2 separate regions of the Homo sapiens genome follow, and region 1 is linked to region 2. The links are contacts of gene promoters, found by promoter capture Hi-C in blood cells and fetal thymus (Javierre and others, 2016). All regions are on one chromosome and are shown on one strand. The core of a region is centred on a gene start or on the middle of the fragment in contact, and the rest is flanking DNA. Distances in the headings are between cores, read along the strand shown. Region 1 holds the start of ENTPD7 (ectonucleoside triphosphate diphosphohydrolase 7). Region 2 holds the start of AVPI1 (arginine vasopressin induced 1).

The links. Contacts are between HindIII fragments. The CHiCAGO score rates a contact against its expected background, and 5 or more counts as called.
Region 1: a contact is called between the fragment with the promoter of ENTPD7 here and the fragment with the promoter of AVPI1 in region 2, in 1 of 17 cell types (non-activated CD4 T cells). The highest score is 5.9, in non-activated CD4 T cells.

What each region holds. Positions count from the first base shown.
Region 1 is chr10:99,657,837-99,661,103 of GRCh38, forward strand. ENTPD7 (ectonucleoside triphosphate diphosphohydrolase 7) reads left to right here and starts at 1,673. Exons shown (of 13, transcript NM_020354.5): 1 at 1,673-1,752; 2 at 2,026-2,128. The coding sequence starts at 2,121. It also overlaps a transcript of SLC25A28 not described here. RefSeq lists silencers at 1,352-1,561, 1,682-1,901. The HindIII fragment of the contact is 2,116 bases long and covers 445-2,560 here.
Region 2 is chr10:97,685,311-97,688,527 of GRCh38, forward strand. It overlaps AVPI1 (arginine vasopressin induced 1), which reads right to left and starts at 1,931. Exons shown (of 3, transcript NM_021732.3): 1 at 1,456-1,931. RefSeq lists enhancers at 1,068-2,021, 1,755-2,954, 2,022-2,975 and a silencer at 1,918-2,297. The HindIII fragment of the contact is 1,235 bases long and covers 821-2,055 here.

The sequences.
Region 1 (3,267 bases), core at 423-2,922, 2.0 Mb after region 2:
CATGCTAATACCCTCAAGTCAGAGTATACATGAAACCTTCCCTTTTTGTTCACTACTAAGCTTTCCTGGCCAGGTGCAGCTGCTCATCCCTGTAATCCCAGCACTTTGGGAGGCTGAGACAGGAAGACTGCTTGAGCCCAGGAGTTCAAGACCAGCCTGGACAACATAGTGAGACTCCATCTCTACAAAGAATTAAAAAAAAATAAGCTGGGCATGGTGGCACGTGCCTGTAGAGCCAGCTACTCAGGAGGTTGAGGTGGGAGGATCGCTTGCTCAGGAGGTCGAGGCTGCAGTGAACCACGATCGCACCACTGCACTCCAGCCTGGATGACAACAGAGTGAGACCCTGTAGGTAATTAAGTAAGTAAGTAGTTTTCCTAATGTCCTGACAGGCTTTGAGTCGGCCAAATGCAAGTGATGGTGACTGACTCCCTTGTCATAGTAAGCTTTGAATAAATAAAGCATTTGGGTGGTCTTCCTCCCCGATCCCCCCCATTCATTCATTTGCTTATTAATTATACATTAGTTGTGTTTTATCTGCCAGGCAGTGGCCAGTATTGGGAATATGTGGAAGCAAATAGTCCCTGCCTTCAAGGATATTCTGTCTAGTGGGACAGACAGACAGACATATACGTATAATAGTAATTCAACGTGCTAAGTGAAACAATAGGCATGTATAAAAAAGGTGTAGTAGGTCAAGTAGGGCTTTTAGGGGAAGGCGACCCTTAAGATGGGTGGTAAGGGATGAGTAGGAGGTGATTTGGCTAAGAGGCTGGGACGGTTATTCAAGGCAGGTGGAGGGGCAGAATGAGCAAAACAGGACGCGTTGCTGGAGCGTGGTAAGGAAGGCAAGTAGCGGCAGAGGACGGCGGTAGGGCGGATCGTGGGGCGCAATGGATGTGCCACGTTGGAAAGAGCTTGGACTTTATGCCGTCCTCCTGGAAATGAGATAACGGCTGGTGTAAGCAAGAAAGAAACACACACACACCCACGCGCGCGCGTCGTTTCCTTTGTGTTACTGTAAGGTCAAGGAGGGCGGCGACACAGAAATTCATGATGACTGGCATAAGCAGACATTCAATGAATGAATGAATGGACATAAGCACTTTGGTGTAAACGTCATTGTCTTCGATTTCTGTTTTCTCACGGGGCAAGACAGTGAGGTCGGGGCATCAGTTTGGGAGGTGATAGGGAAGGTTTAAGGTGAGAGAACTGCCATTCTGGTAGGGAGGGTCAGTGGGCACAAAACCAACAATAGGTTATGGGCAAGGGATGCGCTTCGGTCGCGAACACCCTGAACCCACCTACCGGAGCTACTCTGTCCCAGGAGCGGCCGTGGAGAAAGCAACCAGCCGAGAGTTCGCGCCCCAGGGAGGGAAGCGGGCACAGGGCCGCCCAGCGCCACTCACCTGTGAGCTCTCCGCGGGCCCTGCAGGCGGAGCCTCGGTACGACGCCTTTCCGATTGGGCGCGGCTCAAAGTCCCGGGGCGGGCATCAGAGGCCGAGCGCTCTAGGGGATTGGCCACCCTGGCGGACGGACGTGCTGCTGACCGAGCTGGTTCGCCCCCGGTTCGGCTCGTGGAGAGCCGGCCCCTCCGTGAGTCTTCTGTCAGTCATTGGCTCCCTGCGGTTTCCTTGGGGACGTGGCGCCGCCGCCGGCCGGGCCCTCCTTCCGGCTGGGCAAGGGGCCGCGGGGAGCAGCTCGGGACTGAACCGAGAGGTGCCGAAGGAACCGGCGGGCCGCTTGATCCCGTGAGTGTGGGCGCGAGAGGGCTGTGGGACCCGGAGGGACGGGGAGAGGAAGCGGGACCCACACCCCGCCACCTGGGGACGACCGGTTCCTAGAGGACAGAGCTGGCCCACGAGAACGCCCCGCTCCCAGGATGCCCGGGTAGGGTCCCCTGGGCCTGAGGAACCAGAGCAGACGGAGCGGGAGCCTGGGGAGGAGGTGGGAGCCGTGGAATTCCCGTGCAGGTTTGTCTCGTGGGCTCAGTCGGACAGAAGCCTGAAATCAAATCTTTCTAGGCTGCAGACGTAGGAGATGCCTGGGACAAGGAGGCCACCTTCTCAGGGCAAAAGAAAAAGAAGGTGACAGGCGTTGAGACCACCGAAGGGAACCCATGGCTAGGTAAGGCTGCACACTTTCCCTCCGGCTGGGAGCACGGCAGAGGATGGCAGGCAGGTTGGGGGGCCCTGGGAGGCTGTCCCAAGTGAGGTTTGCCCTGGAGCTGCACTTGGACTTTGTATTCTGGTTAGTTGGATGCAGAGACGATCAAAGTTGTATTATTTCGAGGGCTGATAAATAATAGTTTCTAGCCCATAGACCAGGAGTGGTAGAGTGAGTCGGCTTGCTCAGCTCTGTAAAGTGCAAGGTTGTAACATTGATTCAGATTCGCATCTGAGCAAGGCTAGGTGCCACTTGAGGAGGTTAAACAAAGAAGTTTTTTTGTTTTTTGTTTGCAGTGAACTTTAAAAGCAGACAGACCGAGGTCCTTTTGAATCAATATACAAAGTGAACTTCACAGATGAATACACTTATCCATACATTATAATAACCTGAAGCTTTTAAAAAATATTAATGTGGATCTACATGCACCAATAAGGGAAAGTTATAAAATAAAGTGGGGGAAAGATGCAGAACAGCAGGTATGGTGGACTACCATTTGTGTAAAACCGAGGGAATGGATACGCACACACACACACACACACACACACACACACACACAGAGATATATTACTGTAAATATATTGGTGTATATTTATGCTTGTGTATCCGTAGAATATCCCTGGAAAGATACACAGCAACGGCCAGGTGCAGTAGCTCACGCCTGTAATCCCAGCACTTTGGGAGGCCAAGGCAGGCAGATCACCTGAGGTCAGGAGTTCAGGACCAGCCTGGCCAAGTAGAAACCCGGTCTCTACTAAAAATACGAAAATTAGCCGGGTGTGGTGGCAGTCACCTGTAATCCCAGCTACTGGGGAGGCTGAGGGAGAAGAATCGCTTGAACCCAGGAGGTGGAGGTTGCAGTGAGCTGAGATTGCGCTACTACACTCCAGCCTGGGCAACAGAGCAAGACTCCATCTCAAAAAAAAAAAAAATTACACAGCAACTGGGTAGTAATGTTTGCCTCTGAGAGATTGTGGGGTCAGGGCAAGAATCACTTTTCACTATACAATATATCCTTTTAAACTGATTTGTCTTTTACTATGTGCTTGTATAATCTGGTAAAACATTTTTAAAATCAGTTAAATAAATTTTCTGACCAT
Region 2 (3,217 bases), core at 681-3,180:
AATATATTTAAAAAGTGACTCACCATGCAATGAATTTGCAATATATAAATATGGCGCGCAATTGAGCACTCTTTGCAATATATGAAGTTCAGTTCAGACAGCTATTCTAGGAGAGTATCTCACTGCAGTCCCAGGGAGGCACAGGTAACCACCAGAGGCAGAACACATTTGGGTGAGCTGGCAACTCCTAGGTCCTCATGCAGGAGGAGGCCCCCTTCCAATAACCCAGGTGATAGCAATAATCTCTGTAATCAGGGGCCTAGGGGCTCTTAGAAAAATTACTGGAGGCTCTGGCCCAAGGCCTGAATCAACACTTGGGACCCTGGCCTGCTATCCTATACAGACATGCCACTGGACAGCAGCCAAAATCTGTGGCTCCTCAAATGGGAAGCCCAGTTCAAATCGCTGTGTGGGCTTCCCCACCAGCAGGGCCTAGCCTCAGGGAGGTATGCCGAGACAACTGGATATACATTGGCCTCCAAATCCATGCCCCTGGAGGTGGAGAAAGGAACTGGGCCCTTTCCCCAGACCAGTTCTCATATATGACCTGGAAATAAACTGCTACTAGATCTAGGGATAACCCTTTCAAGATTTCTAGAACCCTGAATTCTGGCTGTGCTGCTAACTGGGTGACCTTGGATAAGTCTCAGTTTCCCCTGCCACAAGTTGCTCGTCATCAAAATAGTATAAGGCCAGGCCTGGTGGCTCACGCCTGTAATCCCAGCACTTTGGGAGGCTGAGGTGGGAGGATTGCTTGAGCCCAGGAGTTCCAGACCAGCCTGGTCAACATAGCAAGACTGCCTCTATAAAATTTTAAATAAGCTTTTTAAAATAAATGGTGAGTATAAATAACTCTTAACAGGAAAAGGGAGATTAAGTTTGTGACGGCATTCCTTCTAGTACCTGGTATACCACAGACATTCTATGCATGCTGGTTGAATGAATAAATGATGAAGGGAAAGGCTGTTTGACTACCAGGGGCTATAGAATCATTGTCATTTTCATCATCACAGCCATCAACAAATCTGTGTACTTTTAAATCATAGCTTTATGATTAAAATCATAGAGGCAGCTTGTTCAGTGTCAAGCGCAGAACAGAGCACGTTCAGATGGGTGCTTTCTTTCCTCCTCACTTAAGGTGGCACTATTGTTATACCCATTTTACAGATGAGAAAGCTACACCCAAAGTCACACAGCTGGCAGGTGATGGAAGCTGGGACATGAACCCAGGCAGTCTGACCCCAGCACCCGGGCTCTCAAGCCACTGTTATTTTTGTTCCTGCCAGATGGCTGAGGAGGTCTTCTGGGGAAGGTCGGTCCCAGAAGCCTTTCGGAGGCTATCTGCTTCTGTAGATTGTGGAAGGAGCAGGGAGGGATCCAAAGTCAGGACTCCCAAGCTAGCCTCTGTACCCTCTGCACTCCACTGCCCGGTGGAGAATTGGAGCAGGTACTCACCACACTGAAGGGCAGCTCCGACAGACCTCAAATGGGGATGGGGCAAGCTAAGATGCGCCCACTCCAACCTCTTCCACAGCCTTCAGAAAGGGCAGGCGCAGCTCTGCGAAGGTGCTTACAAGGGCCAGTCGGTGATCACGGGCAGCACAAGAGCATGGCAGAGGGTATCCTGGCCGAGGTCCTAAGGCGACATCTGCAGCACGAGGAGGCCCCGGGACTCAGACGTGGCCGCTTCGCAGAACGACGGGGTCCTAAGTGGATCTGGCGGTCGCGTCCCGCTGGCACCCCGGCTCTGACTGTCGCCCTCCGGCTCCCACCGCAGCGCCGAGCTGGGCCGCCGACCTACGTACCTGGTTGCTTGAGGCAGGCCGCACGCAGCCCCAAACTGGTCCGGGCCACTTGGGTCACAGCCGCGGTTCCCGGGAGAAAGCGCTCCCTAGCCCCGGAACAGCCAATCCTCGGCCCTAGCCAGGTATGAGCTCCCAGGCGAGCCTTCCAAACCCAAGGCGGAGTTCCGTGCGCCAATCATCGGTGGGAGACAGGGAGGGGGCGTGTCCATCCCCGCCCCCCGCCTCCGCTGGCCTCGAAAGCGGAGTGCGAAGCTTCCTCAAACCTAATCGGCGGCGGAGCGGCGGTGAGGGGGCGTGTCTGCCCGGGCCCTGCCCACCGCCCTCTCCGCCCCCGCGCGGCGCCCGAGGCGCCCCCTTCATTGACGTCAGTCCCCAGGGCCAGCGCGGTTTTGCTGGCGCGGGAGCTGGGCGGGGCTGCATTCCTGCCCCAGGGTGCGGCGAAAGCTGGCCCTGCCGGGTACACGTGACGGATGCCCCTTCTCCTGGGCCCGAGGCCAGCGCGCGCGGCACTGACTGCCTTGCAGCGCGTGGCCCTCTGCAGATCCTCAGACTCTGCCGCTCAAGTCCCCTCCCAGCCCACCGTTTGGCTCCGGCTTTGAGGGAGAGGAGGGGGCAGTCTGCTGGAGTCAGACCTTGGGCTTCAAAGCCAGAATGTCGTGGGTTCAAATATTGGGTCATTTGTGCGACTTTGGGCCGGTTACCTAAACAAGACCGTATTTTAAAGTTTGTATGCATTCGGAAATGTTCATTAGTGACCTATGCTGTCCGAGTTCCTTGATAGGCCGTAAACAAGAGAGACGGAAAGACCTATAGCCCTTGTCCTGGGGAGTCTACAGCCTAGTAAGGGAGGCAGGCATTAAACAACCTAAAACATGGAGTATGTGATTACAGTTGTGATCAATGTTATGGCTATAAGAGGATAAATATGGAGGAACCTAAGCTTCCTCTGGGAGGTTCAGGAGGGCTGAAGAAGCAGCATTTAAGCTGAGATATAAAGAAGGAGTTGAAACTGGTCAAATGAAGAGGAGTGGATCTGGGGAGACTGCTTTAAGGAAAGAGGGAAAGGCATTTGGTTGGGCCAGGAGGTAGCTTGGCTCCGGAGGAATTAAATGCGACCCGGAGTAAGGCTAGCAAGAGAGAGCACGGTGGGAAGTAGAAGGCAGAGGCAGGCAGAGAAGGTTGCATGTGATCCTTGGAGGGGTTTAAACAAGGAATGGCATTATATGTACTGTGTTTATGTAACGGGCATTTTATAGTACTTACCACGTACCAGTAGTGTCAGTCAGCACTTTGCAAATTTCATCATCATGACAAGTTTGTGTTTTTAGAAGGTCACTCTGGCTGCAGTTTGGAACTTGGATTGGAGGGGGCAGGAGTGGAGGCAGGGTGTCCAGTAGGCCTCTGATAAATGC